2 separate regions of the Homo sapiens genome follow, and region 1 is linked to region 2. Evidence: promoter capture Hi-C in human tissues and cell types (Jung and others, 2019). All regions are on one chromosome and are shown on one strand. The core of a region is centred on a gene start or on the middle of the fragment in contact, and the rest is flanking DNA. Distances in the headings are between cores, read along the strand shown.

Region 1 (7,186 bases), core at 4,638-7,137, 450 kb before region 2:
CCTTGCAATCACTTTAGGTCAAATTCTGCTGTGTGACATCCATCCTATATTCCTGTGATCCGTTGACATAGGTCCAGTCATTGATGTTGTTTACATATTGAAATCCTTCCCAGCATCAGTTCTGGGTTTGGCCTAGAGAACCAAAGACCCATTTTAGGCTCTCACCATCTCCCATTCCCTTACTACACATCTCACTCAAGGACATTTTGGCCGGGCGCGGTGGCTCACGCCTGTAATCCCAGCACTTTGGGAGGCTGAGGTGGGAGGATCACGAGGTCAGGAGATTGAGACCATCCTGGCTAACACGGTGAACCCCGTCTCTACTAAAAATACAAAAATTAGCCGGGCGTGGTGGAGGGCGCCTGTAGTCCCAGCTACTCGGGAGGCTGAGGCAGGAGAATGGCGTGAACCCGGGAGGCGGAGCTTGCAGTGAGCCGAGATTGCGCCACTGCACTCCAGCCTGGGTGACACAGCAAGACTCCATCTCAAAAAAAAAAAAAAAAAAAAAATTTATCCCACCAACAGAATTTGGACCACAATTCTCAAGGATTTTAGGGACAGACTGGGCCTCTAGGGAGAAAAGTCTGTTTCATCCTTGTGACTGAGTTACATCAGAAGCACACAGGTTGAATTTCCTGATTTCTAAGTATCTGCCTCCGGTGTCTTATTTATTTGTCAATGTATCATTTTTTTAAAAAAGAAAAAAAAGGTTTTGTTTCCATGATGAGATATGTCATCTACATTTATTCTCTTGGGTGAGCTTTATTCATTTTTTTTCTCCTAGAAAAAAAATTTAAGCATTTTTTAGAGCAGAATTAACGTTGGTCCGCTGAGTTCCCAGTAAATGAGGCAGCCCTCCCCCAGAGTAGCATCAAATCAAAACCAAACCCTGTTACCCATTGTCCACTACAGTATAAGCTCCTTGAGGAAAACAAGTCATGTTGTCTTCATGTTTCTATATGTACAGGGCCTGGCACAGTTGAAGCTCAAAATATCTTTGTTAATTAAATGACTAAATTCCAGGCCTCTGTGACAGAGTCCATTGTAACAAGACTTCAAAAAACAAGAACACTGTCATGTTGCATGGCTGTGGATGTAGGTTCTCATAGGAGACATTTTTTAGGGAAGAATTAATTCTTGGCAAAATTATGACATGGTCATAAAATTGTTTTCAGGTCTCAGCGTCTCAACTGTGTGGTCACCTCAAAGCCCTGCTACCCTATATCCCTCTGGTTTCTTCCCATGATGCAAAAATGTAGGTAGGGTTCAGGGACATTCATTTATTTTTTTATTCACATTGGTTTATTGAGCATCTATTATATGCCAAGCACTATGTGTTAGGTTTTAAGAATTAAAAAAATTAAATATAGCATGGCAACTGCCCTTAGGGAGTTAATAGTTTACTGACAGATATATACATGTAAGCTGACCATTATTACACAACATGACAAATTCCCAGATACTGTGGGAATTCAGATGGGATATTCCTAGTCCTTCCTGGAAGAGGTGACATCTGAAATGATTCTTGCTGGACAAATAAGAGTTGAGAATGAGGTGCGGTTCCAGGAGAAAGAACAACATGTACAAAGACTTAAGCTGGAGAGCAATGAACATTCTTGGAACACCATGGAGCTCAGCGTGACTGGGGAAAGGGGTGTGAGTCTGGGTGTGACCAGAGATGTGGCCAGAGAGGGAATCATAGCTGGATCATGCCTGTCAACTCTTAAGGCCTGCTGAGAAGTATTGATTTATCCTTAGGACAATGGGCAGTCACTGAAATTTGTAAACAGAAAAATGACCTGATCAGATTTGTGATTTTAAAAAGGTATAGACTTGAATCAGGGAGACCAATTAACTGAGATCGCCACAATTATCCAAACAAGAGGCCCCTGTCTAGAGGTTCCTGCATAGTGACAGGTCAGTTGCAGTGCAGGGTTTCACCTGCGAATACCCTGCGTGAGCTCTGGTCTACGTGCCTTTGACACATTACAAGCTTTGGCCACTCTACTCACACTTGACTTGAATTTCCGCCTTTGGTGATTATTTTTTCCTGCCAGGTTTGAAGTTGACAGCTTCCAGTGTTTGATAGATTTTTGGTACATCGCTTTCAGACTTTTTATTTCCTTTTAAGTAGAAAACTGTGGGGATTTTTCATACTTGAAACGCAAGATTGCATGAATGACTTAGTTCAAACTTCTCCCAAAATATTGACTTTGGGTAAAGACCAAATCTGAATTTCAGGCTGGAGCACAAAAACAGGTTTGGACATTGTTGTTGTTTCTTCTCTTTGAAAAGAAGGAAAAAAGGAAAAGTGTGAGCAAAGCAAAGAGAAGCAGAAAGTGAAAGGAAAGGGGAGAGAGAAAGCAGGAGGTTTTTCATTTCACCGTTCAAAGAATTAGCATCCGAATAATAAATAATATCCATGTGAACTTCCCTCATTCTATAGGAAACAACAATGCCAAATTCTGAACCTTCTGAGCAAAATGTCACAGACTTAATGTTCCCTATCGACACATGAATTGACTCCGGTTCCCTCCCTTCCCTGCCTTTCTATGCCTGCAGTCTCTCCCTAAATCACCACCACCACGATAGGGTCAAGTGTGGCCTCGGCTGCCTGTCACTGGGATAGAAAGGATTTCTCTTCTATTGATTCTCCAAAGAAACAATTATCAAGTAAAATGAAAATTTCATTTTCAATTTTCATAGGCCTACAGCCCTTGCTATCTGTATCTGATTCTGAAGTTCTATAAGGCTGAATATGATGCATTCAGTGTAATCTATTTACTGTCCCTTGCAAGGTTAACTATTACTGCATAAAACCACTCTAAAGCTTAGGGACTTTGAACAAAACAGTTTGCTATTTCTCACAATTCTGTGGGTTGATCCGGTGTGTGAATACTTCACTGGGTTTGGCTGGGGTAAGGTGTGTGTATACTAAACTAAGGTTGGCTGGGGGCATTGGGATTGTTAGAAGGCCCTAAATGGCTTCACTCACATAAATGTCAATTAGTGCTGGCTGTCAGCTGGGAGCTCAGCTGGGGCTGCTGGTTGGAGGCCTCAGTTATCCAGTTTGGTTTCTCACATGGCTAATTGGGCTTCCTTGCAGCACAGTAGCTGGGTTCCATGAAGGGGTGTTCCAACAGGTGGATGCTGCAGTTCTCTTATATAAAGTACTTCTGCTCTGTTCTGTATGTTAAAGCCATCCACATAGTCAGTCCAGATAAAGGAGAAAGAAAATGGCAAGGACATACCATAAATGCATGTGGGAATGAAAGATATAATTGGCAGAAAGAAAAAGCCAATAGGAAGAGGTTACATTGAACAGCTAACCTCTAAGTGTTTAGATCTGGATGGTACAGGATCAGACTCAGTTGTCCCTGGGGAATGTTCAGTGAGTAGCTAAGAACTAAGCCCTTTGTAAAAAGCCTCATTAGGTTCATAGCCTGTGAGATGATCATATATATCCTTTCTCTAAGAATTCTGTCAGTCTCTTTAATTTTGGCACAGTACACAATACACAACTTGATCCTGATGAAAGTAGTTATTACAGTTTCCTTCAAAATAAGTTGCCAAGCTCTAGGTCATAAGACCCTGGCCACAACTGATTGAACCAGGAGTCCAGGCCAAGGAAGCTGGACCTAAGGGAGACCAGCAGCCAATAACAAAGCCTAGTGTGAGACTCTGACCAATAGGACCACTTCTTATTAGATAGTATTAATCAACATACCCAGATCCTCACCCTTGGGAATTTTTAATGCAAAATGAATTAAGAGAGGGATAGAAAAGCAGAAAGATGTTCATGATGAGGCACTGAGAGAGAGAAGCCCATTCAAAAAGCTACTGAGTCATGAGGGTGACAGAATTAATGGAGTAGAAAAAAATTGATTTCAATTCTGTGGGGACAAGATATTTGGGGCACCAGTGCAACCACTGGGACTAGTGTTGAACACATTGTGGTTTTCTCTGGGCCTGACCTCATCTCCCAGCACTCACCCTTACTCCCTATGCTTCTGCCCCACTGGCTTTCTTTGTGTTCCTAAAACTTGCCAAAGTTTTAGGGGCATTGCAACAGTACCTTCCTATGCCTGGAAAATTCTGCTCCCAGACCTACTCCCAGCTGGCTCCTTCAGAACTCTCAAGGCTTGGTTACAATTCTACTTCCTAAGAAATCTTTCAGACCATGCAATCTAAAGTAGCCTCACACCCTTCTCCCTATCCCTCTTTACCATGTTACCAGATTCTTTCCTTCATAGCACTTACCACCATCTGAAGTCACCTCATTCATTTATGCCCTTTGTTTCTTATCCATCAAACATACAAGCTCCGTGCAAGTAGGAACCTTATCTGTCTTGTTCACTGCTAGAGTCCTTACAGCCTAGAACACAGTCATCACACAGTCGGTGCTCAACAAATATTTGTCGTGTGGATAACAGTGCACTTGCTGAGACAAAACAGCACTCCTCACTTTCCTTGTGTATCCTTAAAATGAATGTGAATACCCATCGTCAAATTTTCAACTGAGTATTCCCCTCCATTCCTTACAAATGGAAAGAGTCTCATACCTATGGTGGGGGTCCTAGAGACCTTCATGGTGGAAGACTTTGTGATGAGGGAACTATAGTGCCAAAGTCATGGGCCCCATCATTGGGAAGCAGCCTGAAGGTTCCCTAAAAATAAAACAAAAACTATTCCCCCAAATAAAGGCAAACCTAAGGACATTTGCTCCCCTTTAATTAACATTATTACTTTCCATTCACTCCCAAGGAAGACAGTCAGAATGAGAAGACAGTCAGGATGAGAAGACAGTCAGGATGAGTCAAGTAATTTCTGCTCACTGGAAATTTTGAGACTCTTCCTTCTCTCAACAGCACCACTGCCCTCTCCTCACCATAAACATACATTTTAAGGTCATGCTTATGTTTGCATTTGCAGGGTATTGCTAAAGGGGTATGCATACTTTATTTTTCATGTCTAGTCCTCTAGGCCAGTGTTCCATGCCTAGGACATTTTATCCACTGGCTCTACAGGCACAGTAATTTTGAATGCCCTAAGAAATATTTGAGACCTAAAAAAAATGATATTGTCTCTCAAATAGAATAAATATAATTCAATAAATGTTTAAGTGCACGTTGAACATTATATGATGTCAACTGCCACATCCATGTACTTCCCAAGGAGGTGGAAGGACCTTTTACTGCATTTGGGATGGTGCAGACGCCACCAAAGATCGCATGCCCAGGGCTGCCCAACATCCTAAAATGGCTCTCACACTAAGTCATGACTGACATGGCCTCATCTATGCATGAATTCTTTTGTATGTGACATTCTTGCCACACAAACAAGGTCTAAAGAAGTGAACTGGCATGTACCTGATTTTTTAGTTAGGGGATTCGTATGTGACCCATCACTAGGATTCCCAATTCCCTGGGACAGAACCAGTCTCAAGTACACCACATCCTGCTTTGCCCATAAGTACACTTGCCCTTGTCAGATCCCATGTCATTGCTTGGGTTCAGAAACCATAGCCAAGTATAGAGGACCAAGGTCCGAGGGTATGGCTGGAGAAGGCAAAGGGAGTGAAAGAGGGTCTCGGTTCAGTGTTCCCTTAACTGCCTCTCAGCTGCCTCCCTCGTCCCAGTCTCCTGCCTCCACATGTCTCTGTTAAAGCAGCGATTGGGGAATAAAGACCCATCGAGAGAGTCTTCTAGAAGTCTTGGGACCTAGATTACAAAAGAGGTGAGGAAATGAGGACAGAGCCTGGCGAGAGTATGCAGAGGTTACAAACTTCCTTACACAATTAAACAGAGGTAGGAGGTTACTTAATGGGGAAAAATCCTATCAGTCCCTCAGAGGTGAATTTTAATTTCCATTTGTGTGGTAGACATAATTTTCCAAACAAAGTTGTGTCCCTGGGATTTTCTGCCAAATATTAATTTCCTTCCTCTGCGTTGGAGCTCTAGTATCTGGGCATGTTGCAAAGCGTCTTCAATATGTGTTTAATATTGTACAGGCAATCAAAGGATGTGAGGACTTGCAGCAAATCTAAAACAGCTTAAACTCAAGAGTTGTTGAAAATTAAGAGCTTTGTGGTTGTCATGTTTTCCTTTTTTTTTTTTTTTAACAGACTGTCATTCCAGACCATTACAGAGTGAAGAGAAGTTATTCTATTTTTAAGGACCGCCAAAGTAGATTCCACTGTCTTCACAACCTATTCTGGTGTCTACGAGCTCTCAGCATTGGCAAGTTTTCCTTGGGATCTAACAAAATTCTGTCCATAGAAGCTCAGGCCAGCCAGCCAGCCATGGGAGCCAGAGAAAACTTCCACCACCCCAGATAAAATCTACCTCAGATTTTCAAGATGGTCCGTAAACCTCTGGAGCCATGATAATCCTAATTTCCACAGCCTCCTTTGGCATTTGGAGAGTTTGCTGTGGAAGCTCAATGCTGAACTTCCCCTCATAGGGAGACCTCTTCACCCACCAGAGAGGAGGGAAGCCAGCACCAAACAGCGCTTCAGCCTTGCTGAGTTTAGAGGGTGAGGGGGTGAGCGAGCCATTGTCCCGGTGCCCACAGAGGCCTGCCCGCTCACACCCTGGGCCTGCCAGCTGCTGTTGCTGCCCCCACCCCTCTCAGCACCCTCCCCTCCATGTCGAGGGACTGGCCCTCCCCCGCCCCAAGAGTGCCTTCCGGCCTTCAAGGAATAGAGGCCAGAAGTATCAAGGAAACATGGCCTCACCCAAGAGGAAAAGGAAGCTCAAAAACCAGGCCAGAGGGTGAGGTGGTGCTGGGGCATAGGATGCATCTGGCCGTCACATTACTGAGGGAGGAAGGGAGAAAAGGAAACCAAGTGCTGGTGGCCTGAAGGCTGCCCAGCCTCAGCGATTTCTTCACACATGCCTCTGATTGCCCTGACCGAGGTTCAAAACCGGCTTGAAAATTGCTTCCAGCTCACATTCTGATTCCAATATAAAGGTAACACATGAAAGACAGTGGAAATGATGACCAGGCAGGACCCTGAAAAACAAACATTTGTGAGTAAAAACTGTCTGCGTGGGGATAGACTGCCTGTACTGAAAGAGTAGCCTCGGCTGTATGCACAGTTTAGGCGTTCACGGATTCCCCCAGGCCTGCGGGGAGGATGGGCTCCAGAGTGCAAGGCATGTTAACTAGCACAGCTGTGGGTAGA
Region 2 (6,993 bases), core at 542-3,041:
TTTTACAGGCTCATAGGCGGAAGGGACTTGCCTTGTCTCAGATGAAACTCTGGACTGTGGACTTTCGAGTTAATGCTGAAATGAGTTAAGACTTTGGGGGACTGTTGGGAAGGCATGATTGGTTTTGAAATGTGAGGATATGATATTTGGGAGGGGCCAGGGGCAGAACAGTTTGGCTGTGTCCTCATCCAAATCTCATCTTGAATTATAGCTCCCATAATCCCCACATGTGGTGAGAGGGACCCAGTGGGAAGTAACTGAATCATGGGGAGGGGATTTTTCCCATGCTGTTCTAATGATAGTAAGTCTCATGAGATCTGATGGTTTTATAAAGGGCAGTTCCCCTGCACACGCTCTCTTGCCTGCCACCATGTAAGACATGCCTTTGCTCCTCCTTCACCTTCTGCCATGATTGTGAGGCCTCCGTAGCCATTTGGAACTGTGAGACCATTAAACCTCTTTTTCTTTATAAATTACCCAGTTTTGGGTATTTCTTTATAGCAGTATGAAAATGGACTAACACCGTCCACATATGCAGGGAGGCAACCACTTCACTCTCCTCTGCTTGGGGTGGGGTTGAGGGGTTGAGAAAAAGAGGGGAAGACCTTTTGAAAAGACCCAGGACTACAGTTTGAAAATGTCTGGGTTTAGAAATCGTTTCACTTCCAGTGCTTCTCACTCATTTCACTACCCATGACCCACTCCCCTCTCATCTCTTTACTGTCCACTTATCACTGTTCTTTTTGCTTAAAATGACTCCAAATCCTCAAAAAATTAAAAGTTCCACTGTTTATTACAATTGGAAATTTTATGTTTATTGTCACTGAGCAGAGGGTCTAATGACTCCAAGGCAGTAGTTTCAGATATTGCACATTGCAAACGATTTTCACACAAAAATGTTTTAAAAGGCTATCGGGTGCAGGGCTGGTTGTAGGTAGGGACCCAACCTAAGAATTATGAAACGCCATAGTTCCTAATTTTGGAAAGATATTAGCGGAGAGTAATATGGATTAGTAGCAAGGGCTGGAGAAAACAGTGCTCTATACTACCTTCAAGGTGCTCTTTTCATCGCTTGTGACCCAATGGCTGAATAGTGGGTAGGAAACAGGATTCAGGATCTCAGGCACGGTCTGGATCTACTGACTCTGAGCGTCATTTTATCTCTTGCTGGGGTACACATCTGCTTCTGGATTTAAGTAACGTGCGCTACAATAATTTAAGGACTATAAAACCACAAGGTTATGAGAGCGTAAACCACAAAGCGTGTAAGTAAATGCCTAGAAAACGCAACGCGGTAGCACAGCAGCAACGCACAAACAGCCCCAGCAAACGACGCGCGCCGGGCTTCCCAGCTCCCGGCAGCCTTTGCGCAGCCCTCCCCAAGTCCAACTGGGCGCCCGGGGCGGGGTCTGGACCGCACGCCCTTACCACACCCCCTCCGCGCCGCACCACGCCCCCTCCGTACCTGCTCTTAGCGCGCCTTCCGCCCTGAATATGCGCATGCGCCATTCTCCCTTTACAGCCCCGAAAACGCTCCAGCTGGCCGACTCGGAGACAATGGCGAGAGGCCTCAGAGTTCGGCTTCTTACCTGCTTTGCATAGGCAGCAATCTCCTGCTAGTCCCGCCTCCCTCTGGCATTCTGGCGCGCGAATGGAGGAGCCGAGAAGAGAGCGCAGTTCTGATTGGAGAACGCGCGTGTTTACATTCTCACCTCTCCCGGGAAGTGGACGAATTTAGACCGCCTCTTCCTTCCCGTTGTTTAAGGCAGTTGGTTGCCCTCCTGTCCGTCAGAGGTGCAGTACCAGAGGTGGCGTGCTGCCGATTTCGCGTTTGCCTTGCTGGATGATTCCGCTTGTTTGCCGGCTGCGTGAGTGCTTAGAGCTTTTCGGTGGAAGATGCCGGACAGTAACTTCGCAGAGCGCAGCGAGGAGCAGGTGTCTGGTGCTAAAGTCATCGCTCAGGCCCTGAAAACGCAAGTACGATGGACCTTCCTGGAATGAAAGGCTCCTACGGAAGCTGGCGGGGACCGCGATGTTGTCTTGGAGACGAGTAGAAATGGGCGATGGGGGTCGGGGGGTTTTCCTTTTAGCGCCCGGGAGGGAGGGAAGGATGTGGCGATATGGTGGGGCCTTGGGAGTTTACTCCCCTGTTCTTCGTTCCTCAGGATGTGGAGTACATATTTGGCATCGTAGGCATCCCAGTGACCGAAATCGCCATTGCTGCCCAGCAGCTAGGCATCAAGTACATCGGGATGAGGAATGAGCAAGCGGTGAGTATGGACTCAGGTGGCTGAATGCGTTACTGGGAATGATCAGTAATAGCGGTAGGTATGCATTGCAAACACCCAGATAGCGCTTACCACTCTTCTGCTACTTTACATATATCATATCAATCACTGTTGAATATTAACTGTTGTTACACCAAGTTGACAGATGAGAAAAGACACAGGTTAAGTAAAACTTGCCTTTGGTGACACAGCTGGTAGTAGCAGAGCCAGGGTTTGAACCCACGTATTCTGGGTCTGAGTCCATTCTCTTACTACTATACTGTATGTCATGATTGGAATGGACAGTTTATGAGTAAAGTCTGACTTCCCTATTAGGCTACAAGCTCCATTAGAGCAGGGATATTATTTCTTCACGACACATCTGTACCCCCAGTGCTTAGTGTGGTGCCTGCATAAGAAAGGTGTTCAGAGATTACCTGTGGGATAAATGAGTGAAGGCCAAGGCTTTGTTGTATGATTGGTTCGGGGCAGGGTGGAGGATATCACAAATGGTAGTGCCTTGATGGAAACTCAGATGGCTCAGATCCTAGCCTGATGCTTTTTCCACCACATCATGCTGCCACCTTTCTTAGAGGCTTATTTGGAAGCAGGATAAGGAAGATACGACGTTTTGTCAATCCACTTTAAGTGCATCCTCTGCCAATCCACCTTGCTCTTCTCTCAGTAGTGCGGGCTTGAAAGGTCAAGAATCCACTTCTGTGATATCACATACTCTCAGTCCAGCTGAGGCTAAATATTCCTGCTTTACACTCCCACCGTTGCCTTCTAATTTAAATTCTTGCCTCCTCTTGCCCAAACAACTGCCTGGCCACCCTAAGTGGTGCCTTTTGCCATCATACATGAGTGCCTGGAGGGCAGAAGTTGTGATTCATTTGTTATATCACCACAGTGCCTGGCTTGGTTTGTGCTTTCACGTGGTGTAGATGCTTAATATTATACATTATTTATTAATTGAATGACATTCTTTATTGAATGACATTCTTTATTGAATGACATTCTTTATCTACAAGGTTTGAGATTTGTATTTTTTAATCTTAAAACTAGGAGGTTTTGAGTTTCTGTTGCTTCTACATTTTACTTGTCTTTGTTAGAACAACATTCTGTTCTTTCATCTGTGTGAAAAAATGAAGCTATTGACCTATGAATGGAACCTATACTTAACTGTTTTTGTAGAGATGACATATCTGCCACTGATTTCTTCATACAGCAAACATTTATTGACTAAGTACTGTATACTAAGGATTGTGCTACATAACCTGTAGGAGAGAGGGATGTAAAGAAGGAGTGAGGTTTAGTCTTGATCTTCACGTTGATCAGTCCTGGAAGGTGAGGGTAAGACTTACAGAAAAAGACTCATCTATTATAACTCTCACAATAGATGTAGTAGCACAGAAGGGGTGACTGGTTCTCTTTGAGGACAGAGAAGATTGCCTGTAGAGGTAATGTTAGTTCATGTGGTTCCCTCAAGGTAGGTAAAGGCATGGTGAGCTGTGAGACTGGTAGGTAGGTTGAGGGGAGGTTGTGGGAAATCTAAAAAGAGTTTGAATTTTTTTTTTTTTTTAACAGTAGGCAATGGGGGAGACTAAAGGTTTTTCTAAACAGGTGGGCGATGTAATTAGATTTGTACTTCAGAAAGATGATGCGAGGCATGGTTGTACATGCCAGTAATCCCAGCTACGAAGGGGGCTGAGGCAGGAGGATTACTCAAGTCCAGGAATTAGAGGCTGCCTGGGCAACATAGCACGACCTCTGTCTCTAAGTTTTATTTCAGCCCCTATAAGCTTAGTTGAGGGTTCTTTAGGTCCCATGTGCTGTGTTGGGTGCTGGATACAGAGATGAATGATAGTTCCTGGCTTTAAGGGGCTTACAGCCAAGCTGTGGAGACAGACACAGACAATTGTATTATAAGGTGGTAAGTGCTGTGATAGAGAGATATCCAGGGTGCTATAAAGCCCAGAGAAGGAGTACCCAGGCTCAGCTTCCCACAGGAGATGATGTCTGAGCTGTCCTGAAGGATAAGCAGGCATTAACCAGTTAGGAAAGAGGAGGCAGGCTCCTCTGGAGATGATTCCTAGATTTTGGGCTTACTTGATTGATTGTGTAGATCATATTGTCTGTGACTGAGACTGGGAATATAGAGGGAAGAGCCAGCTTGGAGGAGAAAGGTGATGTTCAATTTTGAACACATGCATTTGAGATGTTGGTGGAACATCCCAGTGCATATGTCCCTCAAGCATCCTGACTCTATGGTAGTCAAAGGAAGACTTAAATGGTACCTGAACTAAGGGTAGTGACAGAATGATTCAGAGGGAACATGAAAACAGGCTAAGGCATTCAGGACATGTTTGTGATAAAGAGAAAGATGTAGTTGGGTGTGACTTCATTGTCTTTGATTAGATCCATAGAGTAATCAAGACATACTGACCAATTGGCCAGCAAGTAGGCAGATTGTCAGCAAGTTCATTGTTCTTGAGAGCTTACTGTGTGTGGGCACTATTTTGAGTGTTTTACACATACGAACTGATTTCATCCTCACAGCAGTGCTTTGAATTATTTTCATTTTATAGATGAAGAAACAGAGATTTAGAGCAACTTGCCAAAATTACACAGTAGAAAGTGGGGAAGCTGGGATTTAAATCAAAACAGATTGGCTCGAGAGTCCACTCTCTAAGTACCATGTACACTGTTCTGCCTGTGAATGGAGGTAGTTTAGTAGAGGAACAGATCTTTTATGGTCATAAAACCAGTTATGGCCAGGCGCGGTGGCTCACGCCTGTAATCCCAGCACTTTGGGAGGCTGAGGCAGGCAGATCACCTGAGGTCAGGAGTTTGAGACCAGCCTGACCAACATGGAGAAACCCCGTTTCTAAAAATATAAAATTAGCCAGGCGTGGTGGTGCATGTTTGTAATGCCAGCTGCTCGGGAAGCTGAGGCAGGAGAATTGCTTGAACCTGGGAGGTGGAGGTTGCCGTGAGCCAATATTGCATCATTGCACTCCAGCCTGGGCAACAAGAGCGAAACTCCGAAACTCTGTCTCAAAAAAAAAAAACAAAACAAAACAAAATAAAACAAAACAAAACAGTTACCTCTCAACTTTTGACATTTCCTACCAGAGGAATATACTTTTTGTTACGTGTTGTTGTATATTTTGCATTGCCTAGCAACATTTCTTACCTAGCTATCATAAGTGGGCAATTCTTTTGGGTGTCTAAATAAAGTGTTCTTATTGCAGCAGGTATTTACATGCCTGCATTTCTTAGGAGTTGTCTTATTCTCCTAATGTGAATTTGGCCTTATGTGCAAAAGGAAAGAGAGATGGGGCCAGTAGAGAATAGCGACACAGGAAAAGAGCAGAGTCTTTGTGCAGGTTCTCAGTGGGTGTATGATAGTAGAGCCAGTTAAGATTATGATCCATAAACATTTCCTTTTTTTTTTTTTCCACATTTATGTCGTTAATGTGGAGTTCTTTAAGACAGTATACTACTTCATTTAAAGCTGAATGAAGGCTAGGAAATACGCAATTCATTATTATTTCTAAAGAAATGAGAAGAAATAATACTGGGAAAAAAATGATGTCCCAGACTAAGAAGAATTTGAGAGAGCACTCAGCATTTTCCCAGGTTATCTTGTGTGCATTTAATTTAGTGCCCCCTCTCTTCCTGATTATGAGCTGAAGTAGAGTTACAAGGTAAAAACTATCCATATGCAGGCCATAAAGGAAATCTCAATAAATCGCCAAGGATTGAAAGCGTGCAGTATATGTCACCTGACCATGTGGAAGTAAAGTGGAACTCAATAAGAGATCACTAAAAAGAATCTCAGACCTTTGGAAATTAAGCAACATACTTTTTGGTATTTTGTAAATATTTGAAAAGATTAACAAAATGAATAAACTTCAAGATAGACTGATTGAGAATAAAAGAGAAAACAGATTACCAATGTCAGGAATGAAAAAGGAGGTATCACTACAGATCCTAATTAACCAATGGGTTGAAGAAGAAATCACAATGGAAAGTAGAAAATATTTTGAATAGAATGATAATGAAAAGATGCAACTCAAACTTGTAACCTATAACTAAAGCAGTTCTTGGAATCATTTTAAACAAATTATTAGTAAAGAAAATTAAAAACCAGTGTTCTAAATTTGTATTTTAAGAAGCTAGAAAAAGAAAAGCAAATCAAATTCAAAATGACTGAAATAATAAATACAAGAACAGAAATCAATGAAATAGAAAACAAACAATAGAGAAAAACCAACAAAAATTTTCGAAGAACTAAAAAAATTTGTTCTTTGAAAAGATGGATAAATTTGATAAACCCCTCATGAGACTGATGAAGAATAAAAGAAAGAAAACAAATTACCAATATTGTTAATAAAAGAGGACATTCCTATTGATCCTGCAGATATTTAAGCAATTGTAAGAGGATGTTTTGAATAACATACATATGAACAAATTTCCTGAAAAACTAAAATTTAGATAACCATTATTTGAAATTTATGTGTAGAACATTTATTACTAAGGTTGGAAATATTTTAATTCTGCCTTTACCACTATGTTCTTGTCTATTATTTAATAGTAAGTTGCTGTCATAAATGTACTATAAGGATCCCAATATGCTCAAGTCCCAGTGTTGTTTTCTCGTAGGCTTGTTATGCTGCCTCCGCGATTGGATATCTGACAAGCAGGTAAACTAAAATTTGTT

Evidence for each region. Contacts are between HindIII fragments. The study calls those that stand out against the background at their distance.
Region 1: a contact is called between a fragment that was not itself captured here and the fragment with the promoter of HACL1 in region 2, in 1 of the 25 tissues and cell types used here (hippocampus).

What each region holds. Positions count from the first base shown.
Region 1 is chr3:16,050,801-16,057,986 of GRCh38, reverse strand. No RefSeq gene overlaps it. Among named protein-coding and RNA genes, the nearest start is that of GALNT15, 120 kb to the left of the region's middle. The HindIII fragment of the contact is 6,949 bases long and covers 2,413-7,186 here.
Region 2 is chr3:15,596,367-15,603,359 of GRCh38, reverse strand. HACL1 (2-hydroxyacyl-CoA lyase 1) reads left to right here and starts at 1,791. Exons shown (of 17, transcript NM_012260.4): 1 at 1,791-1,977; 2 at 2,166-2,270; 3 at 6,936-6,976. The coding sequence starts at 1,897. BTD (biotinidase) reads right to left here and starts at 1,615. Exons shown (of 4, transcript NM_001370658.1): 1 at 1,466-1,615. RefSeq lists a silencer at 1,343-1,402 and an enhancer at 1,244-1,886. The HindIII fragment of the contact is 8,334 bases long and covers 1-6,487 here.